Regions from separate parts of the Homo sapiens genome. Here regions 2, 3 and 4 are each linked to region 1. The links are contacts of gene promoters, found by promoter capture Hi-C in blood cells and fetal thymus (Javierre and others, 2016). All regions are on one chromosome and are shown on one strand. Each heading gives the region's core, a stretch centred on a gene start or on the middle of the fragment in contact. The rest is flanking DNA. Distances are from core to core; before and after follow the strand shown.

What was found. The method cuts DNA at HindIII sites, captures the fragments that hold promoters and counts their contacts. A CHiCAGO score of 5 or more calls a contact.
Region 2: a fragment that was not itself captured here is called in contact with the fragment with the promoter of ARGLU1 in region 1 in 1 of 17 cell types (naive CD8 T cells); the score reaches 6.0 in naive CD8 T cells.
Region 3: the fragment with the promoter of TMTC4 here is called in contact with the fragment with the promoter of ARGLU1 in region 1 in 3 of 17 cell types (non-activated CD4 T cells, activated CD4 T cells and naive CD4 T cells); the score reaches 9.4 in non-activated CD4 T cells.
Region 4: a fragment that was not itself captured here is called in contact with the fragment with the promoter of ARGLU1 in region 1 in 3 of 17 cell types (total CD4 T cells, naive CD8 T cells and total CD8 T cells); the score reaches 8.6 in total CD4 T cells.

What each region holds. Positions count from the first base shown.
Region 1 is chr13:106,562,453-106,569,507 of GRCh38, reverse strand. It overlaps ARGLU1 (arginine and glutamate rich 1), which reads left to right and starts at 1,371. Exons shown (of 4, transcript NM_018011.4): 1 at 1,371-1,935. The coding sequence starts at 1,589. RefSeq lists enhancers at 1,230-1,299, 1,310-1,429, 1,105-2,015 and a silencer at 1,910-2,209. The HindIII fragment of the contact is 1,462 bases long and covers 657-2,118 here.
Region 2 is chr13:100,577,200-100,583,607 of GRCh38, reverse strand. All of the region lies in intron 2 of GGACT (gamma-glutamylamine cyclotransferase), which reads left to right. Among named protein-coding and RNA genes, the nearest start is that of GGACT, 8.4 kb to the left of the region's middle. The HindIII fragment of the contact is 3,266 bases long and covers 1-3,044 here.
Region 3 is chr13:100,670,590-100,676,789 of GRCh38, reverse strand. It overlaps TMTC4 (transmembrane O-mannosyltransferase targeting cadherins 4), which reads left to right and starts at 1,995. Exons shown (of 19, transcript NM_032813.5): 1 at 1,995-2,046. RefSeq lists enhancers at 1,325-1,404, 2,730-3,619 and silencers at 1,595-2,094, 2,125-2,484, 2,535-2,614. The HindIII fragment of the contact is 7,703 bases long and covers 1-6,200 here.
Region 4 is chr13:97,426,324-97,432,892 of GRCh38, reverse strand. No RefSeq gene overlaps it. Among named protein-coding and RNA genes, the nearest start is that of RAP2A, 4.6 kb to the left of the region's middle. The HindIII fragment of the contact is 3,897 bases long and covers 1,219-5,115 here.

The DNA.
Region 1 (7,055 bases), core at 122-2,621:
CCTCACCAGCGACCAGATTGGCTAGCACCTGGATCCTGGATTTCCAACTTTCAGAACTGTGAGAAATAAATTTGTTGTTCATAAGCTGCCTAGTTTATGATATTTTGTTACAGCAGTCAACACAGACTAATACACTACTCTTCTTTGTTTCCAAGTTTTCTTGATAATTAATTATGTGATCTTCCATATAAAACTTAAAATTAATTAGTTCTAAAACACATATCCCCAAGAGAATTTGGGACTCTCATGAGAATTGCACTAATTTTGTAATTTGACTTGGGAAGAATTGACAGTATTTTTGATACTGACTACTCACCTAAGAATACAGCATGTTTTACATTTACTAGGGCCTTATTACTGCCTTTTCAGTAAAGGTTTATAATAAAGATTGTGTAACTTGTTAAAGTTTATCCCTAAGTATTTTATGGTTTCTGTTGCCATTGTGGAGGAAATATTATTTCATTTTTAATATGTTTTTGCTTATTCAAATAATTCTAATTTTTCTTCTACTTACTTAAGCTTTATTATTGCACTCAATTTTAAAATTGAGGCACCTAGATTTTCAAGGGTTCCTGTCATCTGCAAATATTAACATTGCCTTTTCCTTTTAGGTCTTAACAATGACACAGTTTGTTGTGCCACATAGGGACGAAGCTTTTCGTGGCTAGGGTTGAGGAGGGCTTGCTGGTTATGTGCAAGGGCTTTGCACAATATGATCTAGGTTCACGTCCCTGCTCTGTCACCTACTGGTTGTGTGACCCTTATTTAACCTCTGTGGACCTCAGGGTCCTCATCTCTGAAACGTGGATAATAGTAGTACTTAATTCAGAATTGTAAGAATTAAGCACTTGTTAATACATTAAAGCATTTAGAAGGCACATTAAGCCCTATAGTAAGCATTAGGTTACATTCATCAAAACCTGCTGCCTACTTACCTCCTGCAAGTCTCATAAGCACTTCAGAAAGTGTGGTGTCTCCATTCTACGAATGAGGAAACTAAGTCCAAGGCAGCAAGTGATGAGTGCAGGGTCACTTGGAGATACATTTTAGGGCTGCCCCACAAGACCAGCTCCTAGAAAATAATGCAATCAATCAACTTCTGCGAGGCCGGACTTAAATCCCACTAAAACGTGCTTAATTCATTCAACAGGCGTTGGCATCTTACCAGGGAGGAAAAAAAAAAAAAGAGTACGCCAAGGCGAAAAGGAGAGTCTCCATCTATTGCGTCTCAGGCTTCCGCCAAGACTGGCGGAAAAAAACGAGTCCGCTCCGAAGCGCTCGCCTGCCTTCGGCAAAAATCGTCAGGAGGCGGGGCCCACGCTTCGGCACGTTTCGCGCAGGGCATTGTGGGAAGGGCGGCCGGTGCAGCCGCAGCTGCCATCTTAGGGGCGCCTGGCGCTACGGGTTTCTCGTTGGAGGCGGCCTTCGTGGCAGCTGTAGACGCCGGGAAAAGGCATAAAGTCCGTTGGCCGACACCTTTCTTTCCTCCGGCCTCGGTAGAACCGCCAGCCCGCGTCCGAAGGCGGAGGCGAGGGGAACTGGCCGCGTGAGGGGCCTGAGGCGAGCGGTTAGAGCGTCTCCCGGAAGGATGGGCCGGTCTCGGAGCCGGAGCTCGTCCCGCTCCAAGCACACCAAGAGCAGCAAGCACAACAAGAAGCGCAGCCGGTCCCGGTCGCGATCCCGGGACAAGGAGCGCGTGCGGAAGCGTTCCAAATCTCGGGAAAGTAAACGGAACCGGCGGCGGGAGTCGCGGTCCCGTTCGCGCTCCACCAACACGGCCGTGTCCCGGCGCGAGCGGGACCGGGAGCGCGCCTCGTCCCCGCCCGACCGCATCGACATCTTCGGGCGCACGGTGAGCAAGCGCAGCAGCCTGGACGAGAAGCAGAAGCGAGAGGAGGAGGAGAAGAAAGCGGAGTTCGAGCGGCAGCGAAAAATGTGAGTGCCCGCGCGGGGAGGGACCGGGGCGTGCGGAGAGCAGGGCGCGGGGCGAGGGCGTGGGGCCGGGGCGGGACGGTGCGGGCCGGGAGAATGGCGGGGACGGTCCGGGGCTGGGGACCGGGCGCGGGAACGGGTCGGAGAGGCGGCGGCGGGGCGGGCAGGCTTGGCGTTTGGAAAGCTTGGGGTGGGACAGACCCAGAAGTTGTTCGGGATGGAAAATTCGAGGGCTTGAGCAGAAAGGGTTTAAGAGAAGGCGATTTTGGCGCGAGAGAGGAGTGGTGTCCCGGAAGTAGGGGTGGAGTTCGGAGTGAGGTCGGAGAGCTGCGTTGGCTTGTGAGGCCGGGAGCGAGCCGGCCTGCAGATGTGGAGGGTGGTGAGCGTTTGCTGGTCGGCTTGAGGAGGAGAGAGAAGGGAATTAACCTTTGAGATGCGAATCACAGCTGGCCAGAAGCATTCTATTGAAGCTCAAATTTGGGACAGGACTTAACTAATCTCGGGAATCATACACTTTAGGTGGTCCGCCAGAAAAATGCATTTTCACTTTAGTGTATTCCTGTTGTTAAGGTGTTGGGATTGCTTTTTTCCCCTTGAGCCTACACCCTCACCCCTTCCTTGAGATGTTAAAAAAAAAAAGCATAGACCTTAAGTGTACAGTGCGATGAGTTTTTTGACCTTTGAATTCACCTGTGTAATCACCATCCCAAAGCCTACCGCTTTTTTAACTTGCTTTCTATTCCTGTAGCAAACACGTGCAGTTTTGTTGTTTCCCTTACACTGTGCTTCTTCAGAAGACACTTGAAGGGTTGATTTTATTTTGGCGTTGCTCCCATGAAGGATATTTAGTGAAAACTAGAGTTAGAGTGTGTTTCCGAAAATGTCAGCTCTCAAGTATTTCTGGCTATGAAAGTAGATGTGGATAAATAATCCCAAACTAAAGGAATTTTTGGGTTTTAAAATTTAGGGATTTGTTGTGTGTTTTGCTTTATGATCATCGTACTTTGATGCTCTGGGTATTCAGTTTCCAAAAACCGCATTGAAAAGTAGATTTGAACAGTCCTACTAACTCCCTATTGAACCAGCCGTACTTGGTCAGTTCTTCAGTGAATATTTAGAAAGTGCTCATGAAGCAAGAACGTTACTGAATTTATGATTTTCTCGAGGCGAGTATATGTGTGCTGAATTGACTGCGTGGTTTGTAGTTTTCTGTAGTTGGGTTTGTGTTAGGTAGATTTTCCAGCACACACACACAGCTTGTTTCTAAAACCAAAGTTACTAAAAGGTAGGACTGGAGCACTAATATTACAGAGGAAGCTGTACCTGGAGCTGTTTTGCTTCCAACACTCCTTTAAAACACATGCAACACTCATTTTTCCTGTACTTAGAACTGTCAGTGATACATATGAAAACAAAGTTCAAGTAATCGTTTCAAATTAAACCTTGATTTTGTAGAATACAACTTTTGGGTCTGCAACAAGGCCCTTAGCTGTAAAGATCTCAAATAGCTATCAACAGATGGATGTATGAAAAGTTACCTAAGACATTGCTGAGATAATTTCTACATGTGAAAACAAAGGAGACCTCCAAAGAGTAATAACTTGCCTTTCACTAGAAAGCTAAGATATGTAGGAAAAATGAAAAGAAACTTGGTATGCAAAGAATAAATAGAAGCATTTAGCAGGTTTCGCATGTATAGCAGACAAGAAATTCAGGAATGAAATACGGCAAATAGAGGAGCTATATGGTTCTCTGGTTTGAGAGAAGACACAAACTGCCAATAGTATTTAGGAGGGAGAAGGGACCAGGACTAGCAGCCACCTGTACTCTAAATTCCTGGGTGCCGTACAATAGGCATTTTATTTAATATATTCTAATGTCTTGGAAACAATGCAAAAGAAACAATGGAAAGACTTAAGTGTTGGAGCTTTGGCAGTGTAAGGAAACAGTTTGCAGTCTACATATCCTGTTGGTTATTTTATTCATTTAACTGATGTTTATTGAGCATTTAATAAGTGCCAGGCACTGTGCTAGGTACTGTTAATATAAAGATGATTGGCCCTTCTCCAAGAGCTTGATCTAGCTCAAAGACAGATCATTAAATAGGCAATAATACAGTGTAGTAAATTTAGTGACAGTAATATAAACTGTATAAAGGAAGTATCCTGTGTGGGTGGAGGATATAAGAATATGACAATGTCAGGCAAGGTATAGGACATATGTGGAGCACAGAAAAGAGCCTCCTCCCCCGACTCCTGCCAAAATAGAGGAAATGGTCTTAAAAGTGGAATGATCAGGTGACTGTTGACTTAGAACACGAAGTTCTATAAATATTTAAGTCATGGAGTGACTGGAGAGGTAAATAGAGGCTGGGAATCATGTTAGGGTTATTGTATGTCATATTAAAGAGCTTGGATTGCATCCTAGAAACGGGAAGGATTTTAAGCAGGTGAATGACATGGTGCCTTTTTTGTTTTGATTGTTGTGTAGGATGGAAACTAAGAGGTGGGTACAGAAGTTTACACAGGAGTAGTGAGGATGGTTGTTGGAATGGAAAAGAGGGACAGATTTAAGAAACATTCAGGGTATATTAAATGGAATGTGGGACTTCAGAAAAAGAATGTTGGTTCTCATGTTTATAGTGTGGCTGTTGCAACTCATCTACCAAATGTTTCAGTAACAACCATGTGGCAGGTACTGGTAAAAATGTCAGAAACTTTTTAAATAGTGGATAAGGGAGAGGGAAAGGGGATAAGAGAATGGTGCCTTCACTGTGAGCACTAGTTTTGGATATACTGTACTGAGTTTATCCAGACTTGATCATGTGAGACTGAAGCCTAGCTGAGAGGGGCTTCGCTGAATGTCGTGAAACCTTGAGAGTATATGGAATGACCCAGGGAGAGTGTGGAGAGAGGAGAGCGGTTCATTCAAGGGACTGAAAGAACCTTAGGACATGCCTGTATTTGCAGTTAGGAAGAGGGAGAAGAGCCTATGGTGGAAGCAGAAAGAAATATGGTAAAAATGCATAGTGTCAAGTGCCCTTACAAGAAATCTAGTTAGATGGAAAGAGACCGTAAAATAAGAATCAACCATTGGGTTTAACTAATTAGGAATTCTTTGGTAAGATTGGAAACCTTATTGGTTTACCACTTATAATTCTGAGTTGCTGAATAAATCACCTCCCTCTAACCTTGTTTTTAAATCTGTGAAATGGAGATAATCTGTCTTGCTTGTTGTGAAAATTGGAGATGATGTATTTAAAGTAGGTGATACTTGGCATGTAATAGCTCTCAATAAGTAATGTTATTTAATGTAACTAACTTACATGGAGCCAGACCGAGCCTGATGAATTTCAGAAGTGATCTTATGAGTTGTCATCTTAATGCTGAGAAGGTAGGCCTTTACATTTTTAAAGACTTTTGCCCTCAATTTTGAATAGGCAGTTCACATGGTTCAAAATTCAGTTCAAAAGATCTTCCTCTCATCCTTGCGTCCCAGCCATTCAGTGTGGTTCTTCTCACCCCTCCCCCACACCAGTAGCACCATTTTCTTAAATGCTCTTTTGAGATGCTGCATGCATGTTATATTAACTGTTGAAAAAATAGACAACTGAAAATAACTTGCAGCAAATCAGGAAAATGTTAATGGCATAGTAACTTACTCTAGCCTGTGATATCTAGGTTCGAATATCCTCCGTGTTCAACTGGATGACGGATTAAGGGCCTTCTAAATTAGAGTATCTACACTGAACTGGGATCTATATAAGTGATTCTTAGAATACTTGGGCAGTTCATTGTGAGAGCAAAGAAGAGCTTTTAGGAGAAAATTGATTATATGGAACCGCATATTTTTGGAGGTTAAGGCTCTGACAGAACATTAAGGCATAAGACCTAGCTGATGTTAAGAATATGTATTCATTTATTTATTTATTATTTTTGTAGAGACAGAGTCACTATGTTTCCCAGGCTGATCTTGAACTCCTGGCCTCAAGTAATCCTTCTACCTCAGCCTCCCAAAGTGCTGGGATTACAAATGTGAGCCACCGTGCCTGGCCTATACTTTTTTCTTCCTTTTTTTGGTCGTTAAATCTGTGTGCTTGTCTTTGCCTTGCTTATTTGTCCTGCAGAAACCGGTGTAGGGTGGTAGTATAGTGCTTGCTTGAGATCGTTAGCTTTGGCATCTACTTAGGTTCAGAGAAACAGCTCAGCAACATCCAGTGTGCTCGAGTCTAGAAACTTCAGCTCCTTGTTCTTAGTTTCCTCAGTAAAAATGGGATACATACCCACTGCATAGGAATAATTATGTGATTTAAATGATGACATGGTATATAAAGCTTTTGGCACAATATTATATGTTACCTATTAAGTAATAAGTAAATGCTGTTTGCTAATAATTATTAAGCGATTCCTAGAAGTAAACCCCTAGGATTGAGTTCCCACATTTTAAAGATGTTTTAAAATAATGGTGCCAGTTACTCTGTAACAGTGCCGAAGTGCTGTAGCCTTACTGTTTTGTTTTTAATAGTTAGCATTTTAAAGTTCAGTGTGACTAGTGGTTTTTTTTTTTGTTTTTTTTTTTTTTTTTTGAGACAGGGTCTTGCTCTGTCGCCCAGGCTGGAGTGCAGTGGTGCAGTGGCGCAATCTCAGCTCATTCTCCTGCCTCAGCCTCCCGAGTAGCTGGGACTGCAGGCACCCGCCACCACACCCAGCTAATTTTTATTTTTTATTTATTTATTTATTTTTATTTTTAGTAGAGATGGGGTTTCACCGTGTTAGCCAGGATGGTCTCGATCTCCTGACCTCATGATCCACCTGCCTGGGCCTCCCAAAGTGCTGGGATTACAGGCGTGAGCCACCGCGCCCAGCCTGACTAGTGTTTTTAAAATACCTGAGAGCACAGAGAAAATAGGACCTAGTATTATACCATTTCATTGAAAACCTTGAAGATCTTGATTTAATGCTTTCGTCAGTATAACATATTATTGGCAGGGAAATGGATATTCAGCAGAGGAGCATGAGGAAAACATTAGAGAAAAGAACATCATGAGGGTGACAACTGCTATGGCAAGGGTTTTGAGGAGTGAATAGGCTGTTAGATGATACCTATTTTGCAAGACACTGACC
Region 2 (6,408 bases), core at 162-2,661, 6.0 Mb after region 1:
AGTGAGCTGTGATTACACTGATTATGCCATTGTGCTCCAGCCTGGGCAACAGAGTGAGACCCTGTCTCAAAAAATTAAAGGAGGAGGGAAAGGGAAGGAAAGAATAGTAGAGAAAGTGTATATTCATTTCTTCATCTGTTTTTCTCTGGGGTTGTCTTTTGATTTATAAGAATTATTTATACATTGAGAATACTAATCTTTTGTCATACGTACTATAACTATTTCCACCCTATTTTTTGTACTTTGTGTAATACAGTCTCTAGGCTTTGCAAAAAATTTTAATTTTATGTACTTAAAAATATCGATCTCCCCTTTATAGTGTCTTTGTTTTGTGTTTTGCTTAGAAAGACTTGCCCATTTTAAGGTTTCTTTTAAAAATTCGTGTTAACACAGATAAATGAAAATGTAATGAGAGCTAGGAACATGTGATTCTGAAAAAGATTATTGAAGGGGGAGTATTTCCAGACAATAAATACCAAACTAATGTTGGCATTAAGATTGGCCGTATGTTGCTAAGTGTTGAAGTTGGGAGATGAGTATTTGAGAGTTCCTTCTATCATTACCCTAGTTTTGTACATATTTTACTTTCCATAACACAGTTTTTTTTACCAAGAAAAAAATAGCAGGGGGAAGTTATATCTTTGTCCCATTCATTCATATTCAGCAGCTATTTATTAAGCTATTCTGAACACTGGAGGGTATCATGTTAATGAATGAAAAAGGTGTTGGAATTTCTATTATGTGGGAGACAAATATTAGCATCATGGTTAAGGGCACCAACTTCTGTGTCAGACCGCCTGGCTTCTCGTCCTGACACTGCCACTTACTAGCTGGGTGATTTTGGACTTTTTAATTAAAAATATGTGTATAATAACAGCTGTCTGGAGGCTCTAGGGAGAATCTGTTTTCTTCCTTTTTGCAGCTGCTAGAGGCCACCTGCATTCCTTGGCTTATTGGCCCTTTCCTCCATATTCAAAGCTAACAATATTACCCTTCTCTGACCCTGCTTTTGTCGTCACATCTGTCTGATCTGATCCAGGGCAGGTTTTCCAGTTTTAAGGATTCCTCATTTGATTAGATTGGGCCCACTTGGATAATCCAGATTGATCTCTGCACCTCAAGGTCCTCACATCTGTGAAGTCCCTTTTGGCATAGGAGTTAACATATTCATAGGTTCCAGGGATTAGGATGTAAACATCTTTGGGTGGCCATTATTCTGCCAACCACAGATTTGAGGAGACAAAAGAAGGTGAATGTGGCTGAGTCCTTGGCAGGGAGGAGATGGGACTGGAGAGGGAGCCAGGGAGAGAGGATTCTGTAGGTCATCATAAGTTTTGAAGTTCCTCCCAACAGTAAGAGGAAGTTATGGTCAGATTTATTGCCCCAAATCTGAAATCAGCTGTTTCTCCAAGGAGCCCTGGTTAGCTGTTTTAAAGTGAAAAATGGTACTTAAAGGCCATAATCTGGCCCTAATAAGGTGCTCATTGCTGTTGGATTGGCAGTTGTTTTTAAGCCATTTCAACAGACAGAGACAGGGAAAACCATTGTTCAAGATAAAATATTTCATGAGCGCATACTGGTAACATCCAAGTCTTTTTCTGGACTACAACGTTTTTGCTTAATGTCATAGAACTTATATCCATACCCCTTTCTTCCACTCCAGAAATCTCAGTTCAGAACAACCCAGCATAATTTATTATTTGCTTTAGCCCTCACCCCACAGAGTCACTGCCACAGGGGTGTGGGGATTGGGAGGAAGACCATGGAGATAAAGTGTCATTTTTGCTACATCGTATCAAGCACACATACTGTCTACATGACTTCTCTCTTTTGCTGTTGATCTTGATTACCTGACTGAAATAGTGATTGGCAGGTTTCTCCACTGTAAAGTCACACTTTCCCCCTCCCTTCATACTGTGCTCTGAAAGGAAGTCACAGTGAGCAGCCTGCACTTCTGAAGGGAGGAGTTATTTAGGCTTCATCTCCTTAAGGGGAAAGTGTCTACATATGTTATTTGGAATTCTTCCGTGCAGGAGGGTTATCTGTTTTCTTGCATTTATTTACTCAGCCATTTATATCATTATGGACTCACAGATACTTATATTATACTTTAGGTTCTAATCCAATACTCCTTATTTTGTTCTCCAGTTGTTCCTGCTTTGGCCATTGGGAGCCTGTTCCATTGTCTCTTGTGTCCTTTCAACTTGTCCCATCTTTGTGGGCTGGTGGGTTTGTTTATTTTTGAGCACTTCCTTGCTTTCCAATATTGCTAGATGCCCTAGATTGATCTTGTGTATTTCCTGCTTCAGTCTTAGGTTCAGCCGTTTCTCTGGGGAACCCTGGTCCCCTCTGTTGGAGATGGTGTTAGAAACCACAAGCTGGATGCTGGTGTGCTCATTTCGACTGTGGTGGCATTGCTTTTAGGTCCTCTCAGCTGATGGAGCAAGGAAATGTCTGTGTGTACTGACCTGTGTATATACACATATCACTAAATACTTCTGTATGGAACCATTTGTTTCTGTGAGTCCACACTGGTGTCTCCAGCCCTAATCCTTTACCCCGTGGATCACTCTTGCGTTTTCCCTGCTGTCTCTCACCTCCCATTCCAACAGTGAGAAACGTGGCTCCCATTGCCTGTGGCACATTTGCCTACTTGTTCAGTACATATGTGTGTATCACAGTGTTGGAATTGCCATCTCGCCCTATGGGAACCACTTAAACAACGAGAGCCCGGTTTTTATGAATATACACAGTTCCTTTTGCCTTTAGTCTTGTAACTGTAGACTGGGCCAACAGGTGAAAGTTTCTTTGGGCAGGCTGAAATGAGATCCTACTACCTTGAGAACATCTTAACAGTCAGATCTACAGGGTGCAGATTTCATAGCTTCCCCCTGGCAGTTCTTCCATCACTTGTGAGCCCTGGCTGTTTTATTCTGCCTAAGCCAAGGCAGCCTTTGCTATCCTGACTTGACACAGAAGAGTTACTTAGTAACTGTGTTCATTTGCTAGGGCTTCCATAGCAAATTACCACAAACTGGGAAGCTTAAGACAACAAAAATTTATTCTCTGCTCACAGAATCCAAAACCAGAAATCAAGGTGCTGTCAGGGCTGCCCTCCCTCCAAAGGCTGTATGGAAAGTCCTTCCCTACCTTTTTCAGCTTCTGGCGGCTCCAGGCGTTCTGCGGCAAGTGGTCGCACACCTCCCGGCTCTGCTGTGTCTTCACATGGCCCCCTCCTCGGTGTCTGTCTTCTGTCCCTCATAAGGATATTTGCCATTGGATTCAGGGCCCGTGTAGATTGCCCAGGATGATCTCATCTCAGCTTCCCTAATTAATCACATGTGCAAAGTCCCTTTGCCGTGCGAGGTGCCATAGTCAAAAGTTCCAGGGATTAGGGCATGGACATGTTTGCTGGGGACCTTTGTTCTGTCAGCCTCACTTTGTGATGCAGCAGCAGTCGCAGGATCAGAGCAGATCCCCAGGCATTTTTGGCAGAGTAAGACCAGGTGCCAATCCCCGAGGTGTGTTTCTGCTGCTCTTATACACCGAGGCAGACCCATCAGGTCTAGACCCAGCAGGCCCCTCTTTCCTCAGCGCTGAAGGGAGGGGGCTTTGGGCTGACAGGAGACCTAAGTTCCACGTGTGAATTCCATCAGCAGAACGGTGCTCAGAACCTTCTGATTCACTCTGTAGGGGCAGAAAGGGGGTGATCCCTCTCTACCCTGTCATAAGGGTCATGGCTGACACCCCAATGACAAAGATTAACAATAGAAAAGCAAAACGTGTTCAATCATAGTTTTAAATGACATAGGAGCTTTCAGAATGAAGACCCAGAGACCCAGGGTGAACTCTCCAGATTTTGCTTAGATGTGAAGAAGCACAGACCGCCATGTGGAAATTCATTTGGAAAAAAGGGTGTGAGCTGATGGAAATAGACCGAGTAGGGAAGCCCAGCAAGGCCTGTCTCCTCAGGTTCTTCTTGGCCTCTCTGTTGTAGCATTTCTTCCTTCCAGGAATGGGGTAGGACCCTCTGGAATGAGGGTCTCATTGTCCAAGGTCTTTATGGCCAGCTGTTATACAGAAAGGCATGGGGAAGGCTAGAGAGTAGTATTTTTAGGTTTTATGGCTGGCTTTGGGGAAAGGGGTTCTGGTTCCTGTCACCTGCACTGGGGAAGAGAAGTTCTGGATCCTGTGGTTTGTCTTGGGGGAGGATGAGAGGGGCAAGACACACGCAGGAGAAAGTCAGAGAGACTGAGCTGCTGAACCCCTCAACTCCTAGGCCCTCCTCTCCCCACAGCTGTGGGTACTCCTGCCTCCGTACCCTGGGGGTGGTTTTGCTGCAGTTGCTCTTTTATTTGAATTTCATGTTATTTTGTCTTGCATAATTAATTGTTTTTGCATGCTAGCCTAAACACTGCAGGGCTGTGAGCTCTGATTGGGTGAGAACCATGCCTTCCTCATTCGGAGTCCGCCATCATGCCTTCCACATAGTGGGCACCCAGTAAGAAAGAACTCATTTCCAGCTAGTCGAGAGTGTTTTTACAGAACTGATGTTCTGAGTCAGGCCAGAGTAAATTAGAGTAAGGAAGAGTATATGCGGGAATACTCCCCATATTATGCTGTGTTCCTGTCCATTTTTCAAATGACCACATTTACTTTTCAAGCTTTTGAGTGTTAATTACCTCTTCCTGCTGTTGTCATCTGTACTTGGGAGTACGAGGCAGGTAAGTTAAAGAAAATTAATATTTTTACATCTCATGATGGTTTTATTAACTTTCCAGCATTAAATGAGGTTTGAAAAGTGTTCTTTGAGCCATTATTGAAAATAATCATAACTGCCTGCTTTGAATTACTCTTCCTCCCTTGATTTAGTTTTCTGCAAAGTTAGATCCAGATTATAAAAGCCTAATAAAAACTTATAAGAGGAGATTAGTATATCTCATAAATGAACAAAGAATGGTTTGACGGCATTGGAGGGAACATTGACGAAGTCTAAGTCATGGTTAACGTGGTAATTTTAGGAAGAATTGTGAACAGCAGGATCTTTTACAACAGAAGTCAAGTAGACTCACAGGTAAGCCAGCAGAACCAGGGTTCCGGGGCTTAAGATCAGCTGGGATATAAATGAATGTACTGACTGTGGGAGCTTGCCAGAAGCTCGGTTACCTGCCTCTCACTGGTTTTCTCGAGCCTCTGTGTCACTTCCCATCTGGGCTAACTGGCAGATATCTTACGCAAATGCGACACATTCTGGACTCTCAGGTTGCGGTGTAGTGGTGGCATAAGTGGATGTTTTCATTATGTAGAATAAAAACAATATTGGCAGAATATCTATAACAAAGACATCTTGAACAAACTTGTGTCCAGGGAGGTGCTCTCTCCATTGGCAGTGTTTGAGATTAGAGCTGTAGAGGTGAAGGTAGCCACTACCGTGGGAGGAAAAGAGGAGTGCACTTGGTGTTCGGACATTTCCCTGTGGACGCCCAGATGCCAGTATCGCCTTATCAAATGAATGGTTTTCAGAGTCAACTTTGTGATCAGGGCTCTCTTAGAAAACATCCATTTCCCTTTTCTATCTTTCCCTTCTGATATTTTAGTTGTGCCTGAGTAAATAACGAACCCCTGGTGAAGAAAGGCAAGTGAAAATATCATTCCCACCCTTTATTCATAACAATTAGGTACAAATTGGCCTTGAATTTGGTTCCTGCAGGGATAGAGACACATCCCAGTTGATGAACCCTTCTTCCCTCCCTGCTGCCCTCCCTCCTTTCCTTCTCCCCTTCATCCCTCCCTACTTTCCTTCTCCCCTTTCTCTCTTTTTTTTCCCTTTTCAGCATTTTACTGTGAACATTTCCAGACATACTCAAAAGTACAGTATAGTAACCCTCATGTGCCACCCACCCGGGATCAGAGATCACTGCACCATACTGGCTTTGCCATGCTTGTTCCACGTGCCCTCCTCCCTTTGTGTTTTGGACTTTTGTTTGCTTGTTTCTAGAGTTTTGAAGCAAATGCCAGAAATCATGTCATTTCACCCCCAAATATTTTATTATGAATTTTGAGGGTTTTTTACATAAATATAATTCTGTCCAACAATGAAAAAATATTCCTTAACATCTTTTAATATTTTATCCCAATTTCCTTTCTTTTTCTTTTTATTTATTTATTTATTTATTTATTTATTTATTTTTGAGATGGAGTCTCGCTCTTGTCACCCAGGATGGGGTGCAATGGCGTGATCCTGGCTCACTGCAACCTCTGCCTCTTGGGTTCAAGTGATTCTCCTGCCTTAGCCTCCCGAGTAGCTGGGATTACAGGCACCCACCACCACGCCTGGCTAATTTTTGTATTTATAGTAGAGATGGGGTTTCACCATGTTGGCCAGGCTGGTCTTGAACTCCTGACCTC
Region 3 (6,200 bases), core at 746-3,245, 5.9 Mb after region 1:
CCAATGCTTGTAACTCAACCATGATGTGACTAGTGAAATTACATACCGATCCACTTTTTGCCAACAAATTTATTGTCCTTAAATCTGATATGTGATCTGTTAAACTACTTCTTACCCTTGTATAAACTCATTAAACTGCAATCTTGTTTCAGCACTAAACACATTTTTAAGTTTAATCTACATTATTAACATCTTCCCCATCACTTTCTGAAGTCTAGAGACAATCAGCAAAACAAATCGATCCCTGATTCATGATTCATAATGTTGGCTAATTTCCATGGTGTAAATACTTCGACCATGGCCCATTACAGTCTACCAACGAGACATCACTGAGTGTGGGCCGGGAAAACGCACGTGCAGTAAGCACATTATGATACGTAATACTGGAAATGGTAGGAAGTGGACAGACTTCAGAGTTATTTAGGAAGTAGAATCTTGGCGATTTGTTAGATGCCGAGGTGAAGGCAGAGTTTGGGAAACACTGGATAGTGGTGTCTTCACTATCACAGGGAGACAGGGAGTTGAAAGCAAGCAGGGAAAGGACGCATTCAGTTTTGGATGGGTTCCATTTGAGGTGCTTGTTACCAGGAGTAGCTGAATAGGAAGCTAGATAAACGGATTTGGAGCTCAGAGGAGCAAAGATTAGAGTTGCAAATTTGGGATATATTGATTTAAATGTTGACAGCAGGTTAAATCATTCAGGGAAAAATTGTGGAGTAAGAGGAAAGGTCTGAGACCTTGAAAACTCTGTTATTTGGTGGTCACCCAGAGTAGACAAGCACGCCAAGACTGGGGACAGACAGGAAAGTGGAGCACCCCCGCCACAGGAAGACGTGTTTTAAGGAGAAAGAAGGAATTTTGCTCAGATCAGTTAACACGAGAAAGGAGAGTGTCCTTTGACTTTAGTGATGTGGATGCTACTTGCGACAATTAAAAAGGCAATTTCACCGAGTGTGAAAACGAACACGTGGAGTTGAGAGACCACAAAACTGGGGGCAGGCGCCTCTTTCACCAACTTCAGCGATGGAAAGTAGAAGAGGGTGGCAGCAAGGGTACGTGGAGTAGAGAATCTTGGAATGATGAAATGCCGAGGATACGGATTCCAGTCCAGAGGGAGCAACGGATCGGATTCTGCGATACTGGAAAAACAGAAGGTGGGGGGGGGGGCTCGGTGATGGAGGGAGCAGGTGTGCAGTTTTGCCGGTGGAAAGTGGAAGTTTCTCTTTTCTCCTGAAGCAGGCGGCAAAGACCTCTGAGAGTGGGAGTGTGGTGGGTGTGCCGGGCCCCTGGATGGGAGTGGAGGTTTGGAACCAAGTGGCCCGAGCCTGCGGTGAGTGGGCCCGCCCTGGGTGGCTCTGGCCGCAGCAGGGTCGATGGGGCGGCATGGTCTCGGCGGGAAGAACACGGCTTCAGTCAGTTCTGTTCTAAGAAGCAGAAGGTGGAGATACGCATGTTTTAAACAACTCCTCCCGGACAGGAAGAAGTGGAGTTCTGGCTGTTCTGCGAGGACGCCGCAGTCCCAGCGTGGAGACCACCGCGCAGGCGAAGCGCGAGACAGGCCAGAAATAGGGTCCCGCGCGCGGACCCCGGAGGAAAAGCGAGGGCTCACTCGGTTTCCCGCAGCCAGCCTCGCCCGACCCAGCTGGGGCCGCCCCTTCCCGCCCCGGCCCCGCCTCCGCCTCAGCTCCGCGCCCACAACCCGGCTTCCTCCTCTCCCGCCGGGTCCGTCTGTCCCTGCGCCTCCTTCGCCGCCGACTAGCGCCCCCTGGCCTGACGTCACCGGCGCGTCCGCCAATGAGCTGAGGAGGGACTTGGCTGTGGCCTGAAAGTGACGGGAGCAGCAGCCAATGGTCGGGCGGAGGGGGCGGGCCGAGACTGGTGCTGGGGGGCGCCCGCGCGCGTGGGGAGCTGCGGGAGGCGCGGCGCGGGGGGGGTCGGGTGCGCGGCGGGCGGCCCCTCCCCCTGCCAGGTCCGGGCGGGTGCCTGGAGCCGCCAGAGTTTCCGCACCCGGGAGGGAGATGCGGCCGGGGCTCAGGCTCCTTGCAGGTAACGCGCGGGGCGGCCCCTGCAGGGCCGAGCGCGCCGCGGGGCGAGCGGAGTTGGACGCGGAGCGGGCGCGGGTTCCCCGCTGCCGCCGTGTCCCGAGCCCCGCACGGCGGCCCGGGCCAGAGCGGCGCTGCTGGAGGAGTTGGTTCCGGGACCTGAGCTGCGGCCCGGGCCGGGGTCACGGGGGACGCGGGCCCCTGTGTGAGCCGCACATGGGACAAAGGGCGCGGCGTGGAGGCTGCGCGCCCCGCCCGCCGCGCTCGGGCCCCTGAGCTTCTCCGCCCGGGCAGAGGTCGCCGCCCCCAGCCCCTGCCTGCACAGCCGCGCCGGCGCTCCCTCGGCCCGGGCGCACCCGGCGCCTGCGGCGCGTCCCCGGAGCGGCCATCTGGCCGCGGGGCCCCGCGCCTGGCCGCCAGCTGGCCGCGGCGCAGGCGATGGCTGGACACAGCCGGGCCGCTTGGCCGCCTGCCCTGGGTTCCGCGGCGGCTCCCCCGCCGCGCCGCGAGCGCCTGCTACTCCACGCTCGGCTGCGGAGCGGAGCGGCGCGAGCGCGGGGCCACCGGCCCGGGCGCCCGGGGCCACCGAGCCGCCGCTTCCCGGCGTGGGCTCGGAGTTTGGGGAAGCCGAGCAGGTGGCGCAGCCACTGCCCACCTCCTGCGAACTCTGCGGGGCTTCTGGTCTTGTTGATGTTGTGGCTATGGGCTGCGTGTGTGTTTTTCTTTTTTTTAAACCACACACAAAAGAAGGGAGGAGTTAGAGGAACGATCTAGCCACTATGAGTCATCCCACACTTCGCTCTTTCCCCGGGAGAGCAAATAAATGCATGGGGAGAATGTCTTGAGAAACAGTTATAGTAGGGACTGACTAGGTCCCCTCCCTGTCCCTTTTCTCTGCAGTCCTGTCTGCGCCGGGCGCGCCCCAGATGGAGTGGGGTAAAATCACGGCCAGTGCACCTAGATAGGGGAAATGGCTACAAGCTAGCAAACTGGAAACTTTCTGGGACAGTGGAACTGTGAATATCAAACCACACACATTCTTGCTATAGGCAGCCATGGCCCTCGTGCGCTACTGAATTATAAAATGGGAAGGCCGTCACAGCAGGACGATACCTTAGCCTTCAGTAGCATGTATTCAGCACTGCACGGAGGAGGGCGGTGGTGGTGGCTCGCGCCCCTGCCTTGAGGGGCCCAGGGTCTGATCAGTCAGGAAACTGCCAGGCCCAGGGATGCAGGGTCACAAACGATTGTGTTCTCTAATCTGATTCCCAGAGGCGCTGTCACCTCTCAGCGTGCATAGGATGGCTGGCTATGTGATTGAATGTTACAGATGAGGTAGAAAGGCTGGGCAGAGGTCAGCAGGCCCCTGGATGCATGGAGGGGAATATTCTTCTGTAGGTGGCTGCTGCTAATTTTTCCAAGGGGAAACATTTAGGTTTGGTCTCGCCATTCTGTTTACCGCAGTCCAGGCTGCCGTGTCAGCTGTCATTGGGCCCTCATGGTTCACAGCTGGATGACATTTGTTTTTCTGGGGTCCCTGTGTGGGGTCTTTTTGGCCTTCTCACTGATGATTAATTTGTTTTAACCTCCTGAAAACAGAGGCTCGATATGAGAAGTTTGAGAAATTGTAGGATAAAGGGACGTCTGCTTTGTTCCAGATTCAGCCCCTGTTGAGGGGCCAGTTGATTCTGTCGCAGGAGTCAGGTAGCGAGCAGAACACTGACTTCATTCCTCCTGGGTTGTGCCCTCTGCTTGGCCTGTAGCAGAGGCCACAGTGGGTCTCTCTTTTTGTTGCTTCATAAGGTGAACTAACGATCCAGCTATGGCAGAGGAGCCAGGGAGCCCAGGCAGGACATCATGTGGAGAAGAGGGACCAGAAAGTTCAACCTAGGGCCCATCTGGAAGAAAACAGAGCATCCTTTCCTATTTCATGTCCTGACTGTAAAAAATGGTGGAGGCCGGGCACGGTGGTTCACACCTGTAATCCCCATGCTTTGGAAGGCTGAGGCAGGAGGATCGCTTGAAGCCAGGAGTTTGATTCCAGCCTGGGCAACATAGTGAGACCCTGTCTCTACAAAAAAATATTTAAAATAGCCAGGCATGGTGGCATATGCCTATAGTCCCAGCTACTTGGGAGGCTGAGGTGGAAGGGTCCCTTGAGCCCAGTAAGGTGAAGCTGTGGTGAGCTATGATCATACCACTATACTCCAGCCTGGGTGGCAGAGTGAAACCCTGTTCAAAAAAAGGGGGGAAGGGATGTAGAGAGGGTGGTCCCCCGTCTCTGCCACCTTGCTCAGACAGGGCTTCTTTTAACTGAGTGCCAGGCCTGGCTCAGGTCATTGAGGAACAGAAGTCGTTTAGTGTTGGAGGAAGGAGAGTTGGGAACAAGGTCACTGTGCATGGTTGTACAGTTTGTGCCAGACACCTGACCAAGGAAGCCATGTGCCCCGGGTCTGCCCAAAAGAAGGGCCCGCCTTTCTCAGTCGCACCAGGTCACCCGATGGGCTACTGCTGGCCCTAGTGCTCAGCCCATCTGCAGGAATAAACACTGGCAACATGGGTGCGCCCGAGACAGGCAGTCAGGGACTGGGAAGCAGCGGCTAATTTCTCCAAAATCTAACAATAATGAGAACTAGTTGTTTGCATACATTTTCTCCTTTAATCCTTACCACCACCTTCTGAAGAAAGTGGTGGTGGTACTGTGTTGTGCCAGTGAGGAAATTGATTCTTAGAAAGACTAAGCAGTTCAAGGTCGTGCAGCCGGCAAGTCCAGGTTTGTCCGTCACCAGAGCCTTTGGTCTCAACCACTGGACTAGACTGATCACTTTGCCTGGCTTTCTAACAAATTGTAGCTTTTTTTTTTTTTTTTTTGCGTTTGCTAGTGAAAGGCATTTTCCAAACTGTTCCACTATGTACGTTAACAGTAAATCCCTTCAAAGAAAAGAGCATTTGTGAGTATTTTCAGTGGCAGCAAAGAAGTGGGAGGCCTTGGAGAAAGGAGAAGGAGCCCCCTGAGATAGAGAAGCAGGGGAGTCACAGCAAGGAGGGGAGAGCCAGCCAGAACTGGGAAATGATGTAGGGGCAGGGGCGTTGGAGGTAGGCCAGGTTTCCTGCTGTCCCTGCAAGAGCAGAGGAGGAGATCATCTGAGATCCACTGAGTCAGCCATCCACTTGACTTCCCAAGAGTCTGGACCTGGCCTCCTACCAGGGCATCTCGTTGATGGTGTGGTCCACAGTCTGCCTTATATATCCTGGGGCTGTGGCTTGGAACATGATTATGCTTAGAACATATTGCTTAGAACACGTTTATGTTCTAAGCAATCTGAGGTACAGTCGCTAATTTAGGAGCACAAAGTATTTCCTGATTTAGTATTCTACTTAGAAGGCCATTTGAACCTTGACAAACGTTTGTGAAATAATTTTCAAATATTTGAGCCTGAAGCAGATAATATCCAGGCTCAGTGGCACACTCCTATAGTCCCAGCTACTTGGGAGACCGAGGCAGGAGGGTTACTTGTGCCCAAAAGTTGAAGCTAGTCTGGGCAACATAGCAAGACGCCATCTCCAAAAATATATTGCATGAGCCAATAAATTCACTATTGAAACAATAAAACAGATAACGTCAAAACCGGTTACATGACCTTTTGTCAGCTCATGACTCTATTGTGCATTTAAAATTGCTATAAATTATTTGTTTTCCTTCACATTTAATTTTCTAAAATTTCTCCCCATGTTAAATCATAGTATCTTCCTAACTATTCAGTATTTGGCTTTGTTGGGCTTTGTTGTTGTTTGAGACAGGGTCTCACTCTGTTGCCCATGCTGTAGAGCCGAGGTGTGATCTCAGCTCACTGCAGCCTGGAACTCCTGGGCTCAAGCAATACTCGCACCTCTCAGTCTCCTGAGTAGCTGGGACTGCAGGCATACGCCTCCACACTCAGCTAATTTTTGTATTTTTTTTTGTAGACACGGGGTTTCACCTTGTTGCCCAGGCTGGTCTCGAACCTCTGGGCTCAAGCCATCCACCGGCCTCGGCCTCCCAAAGTGCTGGGATTACAGGCGTGAGCCATTGCAACCAGCCTTGATTTGTTGTTTTTTAAGTAGCAGGAGTAATTTCTTTAGCTGAAATGTAAGCATAGAGGTTGGGGTCTGTGTGCT
Region 4 (6,569 bases), core at 1,918-4,417, 9.1 Mb after region 1:
GGCAAAAGAACAAGATGCGTTGCAAGCCAGAATGATGAATTCCACTTTTCACGTCGCCTCCGTGGCATTCTGCCTAAATGATGGGCATGGAAATGGTGCTGAGGGATGTGGGCTGAATCGAGAACACAGGGACTTTTGTCTTCAGGGTGAGAAATGTTCCGGTCCTTAAGGAAACATCGTGCAGCAGTTGCATGGGTCTTCCAGGCGTTCCTCCCAAAACATTATTTTTTTTCTTTCACTATTGAGTTTTAAAACTTAGCGTTCTGTCGCTAGCATTGCATCTTAGTTACACATCCTCTCCCACCCATAACGTCAAATTTAGGAGACGATACATCCCCAAGCTTTCCTGCATTATTTTTTGCAGTAACTGGTTATTCAGTTTACTTTCTTTAAACTATGTCCTTCTCAAACTAGTCTCACCTGTTCGTTACTGTCGCACATTTCCTGCGAATAACACGTTTCTGTAGTTCTGTTGTTAGAGCCTGGCATACCTCTCCCCGTTCCTCTTTCCCACAAGGTCATCATGCAGAGGGGATTTTGGTCTGAGTTAAAAGCCAGGTATTCTTTCACCATCTTTTCTGTCGATAGTCAAACTACTACAAAGACTACTCAAATTTAGTAGTTTCTTATTTCCCTATAGCTTCGTTATATTAGAATGGATAACTTATATTTGCATTACCTTGCTGTAATGAACACACACCAAGTTTTCATTTAAAATTATCAAGGACAAATGTCCTCTGAATTTAAAAATGTGTATGTAGTAAAATATAACTCAGCATTTCTTGATTACATATCATTAAAATATGAATGGTACTATCTGAGCCACCAGAATCAGCAGTGAAGGTATTATATTAATAAAAAGGACTAAGAATCAGGACTGTTTTAAGGGAACTGGAACCGAAGAGGATCTACTATTTCATCCTAGGCTAGTTAACATGAAATAGTGAATTAAAATTGAAAGAGCTTACATGGATGCTTCATATCTGAGCTACTTTGGCAGGGATGTTTCAAGAGGATGTAGGTAAGTATGGTGTTCACCTAGCTTTCCAGAAGTCTCATATTTTGTGTAAAATTGGTATGCTTATTCATGGTTACTTTGGGTTAGTAGAAGCTATACTTCTTTTCCAAGGAAAGACAGACTGTCTTAAGATTCTAACTGTGCATCTTGGTGATAAGAAGTTCTTAGGGTTGTTAAATAGAGCCAGGAAGCGTGAAGCTTTCTCTCTAGATCATGACAACTCATCTAGTACCTTGCATTACAAAGGAGCTCTAAGTCCATTTACTTTGCAAGGAATGAAGTTCCAGTGATTAATGTTTTTGAGAAATTTGTATTGGGATTGTGGGGTCCAGAAGGTTGCCTTAAGTAACTGTTTTCATGACTCCTAGGTCCCTAGATGTTGAGAAGCTCTGGATTGAAGCTGTCACAAAAATAGTGAGTGGGCTCCGTAGTCACTCCATTTAGCATAATACAGAGTAGGACAGCTTTGTGACATTTCTCAGGCTATTTCCCCTGACCTCTCATCAATGCTGACGTTTTTGATAAGAAGGGGTATAGAGACTGCAGCCCTTGGGGTGGTTACAGTTCATTTATTTACAGGCCTTATATTGACAGGCCTCAGATTTCATGCTCAGTACCATAAAGGTTGATTTTTAACCACCAAGAGGCAAAAGAAACATGACAGGTCGGAGCATATTTTCTCACCTATTCTGGCTTAAATGATGGTACTTACCTGATTTGTGGTTGTAGGTGAAATGTTGGGTGAAAGATTAGCTGCTATAAAAAGGATGTCAGGACGTGTAGAGAATTTAGAGGACTTGGGTGGGAGATGGATGTCTATTTTCTAACCCCTTAGTCATGTTCATTCCGATGCCAGCATAAACTCTATTTTGAGATGATTATAGAAATAACTTATATCTTCATTTGTTTGTGGGAAATAAAAAATAAAAATGATATAAAAGAAATTTGAATTATTCCCAAGAGCTGTAAATCTGTAAGATAGTGAAAACTTAACGCAGTAACTGACACTGCAGGATCCCTTTAGTTTCCAAAGTGCATTGCCAGGAGAATAAAAAGAAAGAAAATCTTCATTTCTCCTCTCTCCACTAAATCTGAAAGGGAGTTATCTCACCTATAGCCAGATACCTTCAATTATCGCACTTGTGTTACCGTGGAAACCCAAGTCCATCCTTTCTTTCTGTAAAAGGTGTTGGAAAAGGTGGTATGAAGTGGGAAAGGTACTGTATTCTGGGACTTCCTGACACCAGCAAGAAGCAAATATGCAGATAATTTAATAGAAACAAATTAGTAGAGGATGTTTGTAATGCGAGGGGTACTTTTCGACTGTAAAACCCTGATTCCTAATGCTTCTTATTAAAGCCTGCATGCCTCTGATTAAACATAAAGGGGAAGGGCATGTCAAGTACATTTAGCACCTGTGAAACGCTGCTGGCAAGTATAAGGAGAGCAGACGATGGTTTCTTGACCTGTGAGGCTCCTAATACAGTTGAGAATCTGCAGTATATATGTGGAGTGGAAAGGAAGGGGCAAAATAAACTTTGTTCTTCCTTTAAAAAATGTGATATGTCTCAGTGCTTTTGAAAAGAAAAGGAATTAGAATGCAGAAATTAAGAGTATGGAAACAACTCAATAAAAGAAACGTATGGGTGGAGAGAGTAGATGTTTCAAAAGGCCATTTTAATCAGAAAAAAAATCTGAAAGAAAAGACGTAATGATTAAAATGTAGGCAGAAAAAAGAAAAAGCCTGAAGAATCTTAAGAGCTAGAGGATTCTGCGGAAAACAGAGCTTCAGTGTGGTTCATTTAACAAAGCAGAAGAGCAGGCACAGTGTTGCTTGCGTACCCAGCAGTTTCCCTTTATTTTTGCCAAAGAAGCTGGGATGAATCAGGATTGGACTTTAATAGCATTGCTTTCCCTCTGCCCACGGTTAGTCCAAAAGTAGGCACGTGACTCAGTTCTTGTCATTGGAATGGGGAGAAGGCTGCTAGGGCTGGAGGGATTTCTAGGATATTGACAAGAGTGAGGAAATATCCCCGTTTTCTGATGTCGCTCTCTTTGCTTCCTGCTTTACACATTGAAATATGAGAATGTGGCCTCCATTTGGGGGCTATGATGCATTATGACATTATGGTGCAATACTGTAGAAAGCCAGCAACTTCGGATGGCCAGGGAGGAGGATGGGAAGAACCTAGGTCCTGCATGACAACATTGGACAGTCAAACCAACATTAGAACTGCCCACATTTGGACTTATGGCTAAGTAAACAGCTGGTGTCTTTCAATTTAAGTGTGTGTTGGTAAGGTTTTCTGCATCTTACAGCAAAATACATCCCACCTGTTAACAAAAAGTATGAGGGATTCCAGCCAAAATCGGGCTTTAAAAAATCAGCAAGCATTTGTGAGCACTTTCATTTCACTAATATCTGAACGATAGTTCAAAGATACTATAATATTAATTGAGTAATTACTGTGTATATTTTTTAGGCTCTGGGGATAAAACAATAAGCAATTAGCCAAAAGAGCTTGTATTCTAGCAGGAGAGACAGATATTAAGCAACCAATTACATGTTTATATTATAAAATAATGGTTATGCTTAAAACTAATAAGGAAAAATCAGGAATTAGAAAGGGTATATAGTAATTATATAAATAATAAAATATTACAAAATATATAACTAAATAACTGAATGAAATTACAAAAACAAACACTTTCCAAGTAAATGAGAATGAAATGTATAGTTTTTACTGACATTCCCAGAGGTCGAGAGAAACAGTAAATTGGAGTAGGTTAGTCCAGGAGAGTTGTCTGAAGCAAATTAATATTGTATCAGGTTTTGAAGGAAGTGGCGAAAGGACAGGCTAGATGGGGCAGAAGAGAGCACTCTAGATGTAAGGAACCAGAAGAGCAAAGGAAGAAAGCAGGAATGAAGTAAGAGTGAATGAGGGAAATACCAGAATCACTTGATTTTTTAAATTCCCTGTAGCAACAGCATTCTAGGGGCATCTCTCAGAGAAAAAGACAGAAAGATGCCAGAAGTCTCAAAGCAAGATTATTTAAAGGTATAAAAATAATATAGGAGAAAAATACAGAAGACAAAGTAGGAGTACAAGAGTGCATTTGAAATTAAGGCGTCATTCAAAATAATGAATAATTTATAATGTGGGCGTCAAAAGAGTTGTCATAAGAAGTAATTATGGATTTAAGGGCATCAAGAAGGAGGGATTCAAACTTTCACAAATAGAAATAGAAGGAAACATGAGGAGTGGCAAAAAATGAAGACAGGTAGAAAAACAGTTTTTGCTTGTTATTTTTCCATGATAGCTGTTATTGACATGCATTATGTAGAAATGAATGGAATTTGTTTGAAAAGAAAAATTTCAATAGAGCAGTAATACATAAAGGTAGGCTTTTTGGTAAATAGTGTAATTTAAAATGTTTTCACTAGAATGCCTTTTTGTACCTTCCTGTAGGAAAATCTTTTCAACAAAAAAAGCTGTAAGTCATAATAAGTTACAGATTAGCAAAGCATTTTTGAAATAAAAAAAAACCCATAGATGTGCCAAATGTAATAGTAGAGCAACAATAATAAATATTTGTAATAAAAATCAGAACTTGTTAGGCATTATGTGGTTTCTGGTCAAATATGGTTGTACTAATTTTTCTAATGCTATTTTCTGTACAAATATAAGAATTTTTTAAATTAAGCTATGGTAGGTATATGAACACATCTTGATATTACTGGAGGTAGGATTTACCACTCACTTTTTGTGACCCCAAGTGTAACCCTGAACAGACTTCTGTCTTAACACCAATAACACATGATTGCACTGTCTTCTCCAGTGACTGGGGAAAGGGACAGTGCTTTGTTCATTTTTGCTTTACCAGCATTCAGCACATCGCCTAAAAACAATTGTGGGAATTCATAAAATGTTTGTAAATAAATGAGCAATTGAGTGGACTATAATGTTGCTTCTAAAAACCCTGGGTTTTGAACACAGAGAAGATGAGAATAAAAGGAAAGGAATAAGGATTTTCCCCAAATCAAGGTGAGGTTGATGTAAATGTCCTCCAAAGTTGGTCTAATCTCCAAAGAAGCTTGTATCTCAAAAACAGTAAGTCTCCAACAGGCAAAGTCAATGGCAGTTTGTAGACCTGGAATTTAGGAGTGCCAGGAAAGATCTGAAAAATCATGTCTTCTATCAACTGACTGTTGTCTGAAATTCTGCACTTAGGTTTTAGTCTTTTGATGTAAAAGTTATTTTTTTCCAATTAAAATGTAAGTAGGAGATATACAGTTAAATTGTACCATCAGTCTGTCAACTTCGGGGCATGCAACTATGCTTACCTGGATGAAAAAGAAAATGAAGAAAGTAAAATAGAAGAACGTAGTTTAAATTGGGGGATAAGTCATGGCATGAGTATGTGCCCAGAGCGAGTATAAGAAGGCCATGGAAATCCACTGTATTTTTGTCATACACTTATTAATTTGTTTCAATAAGGTTAATCACTCCACATGGTGTAACAAGAAAAATAACAGCCTTTACAATTACTAGATTCTTAAACTTATTTCAAATACTTTTTAATTTTTATGAGATTATAAGAATTTTTTAAACTTTGAAGCTGCATGCCTTGTCTGATTCCTTCCATTTCTCTTCTGCTTCTCACATTATTGTGTTCAGCAATGGTTTGGAGGCATCTTGGGGAAGACAGAGCAGAGTTATGGTGTAAGGACCATCCAACTCTTCTCAGCAGCCATCCAGTTATCTTGTCAAGGGAAGTTACTCATCCTGCTCTCTAGAATTATCTCCTCAAAAATCGGTTTCCTGCTTTTCACAGAACAGTACACCATCTTTTACTATTATCCTAATTAATGCTTCTCACACAGCCTTACAAAATATTAGTCACTTAATTATTAACCACATTCATTGGGCTGCACTAGTTGAAAAAGATGTCTTGTTTACTTAGTCAAAGCGCTGTCTCTGTGCAATGGCATTGATGGTGAAATTGATCAGAGTCTACGTTTGAATGAGAGAAGCTGAGGGAGACATTTCAGAAATAGTAAGCCTTTTTATTTCCTTGGTGTACCAGGTAGTCAAGGAAAGTTAAAGTATTTTTTTATACTTTGTCTTGATTACATTCTTTTGGGGACTGGTCTCTGGTGTTAGGTTTTTAATAAAGATTTTGGCCATTTTCCATGCAAACTAATGTTTCCAATGAAAAGATACAACATTGCATGTAAATTACCTAAGAAATATTAATCTGTCAATGTAATTAAATTATATAAGCAACAATTAGTTTCAAAGCTGGAATGGATTAAGTCAGTTCTATACTGCACACTGACAAAGTGAAAGGAACTAAAATGGACAAATTGTGGTGCTGTAAGGTTATGATTCTTAAGATTTTTATATTAAAGTTGCAGAGTTTCAAAGTGCTCAGTGCTGCTCTTTACATTAGGGCTGTAGACTCTCTTAAGCCCGAGGATTCTATCTGGATATGTGATTGATAGGGTGGAGGCTGGGCTGAGGCTTAGTAAGACATTTAACCATGCTTT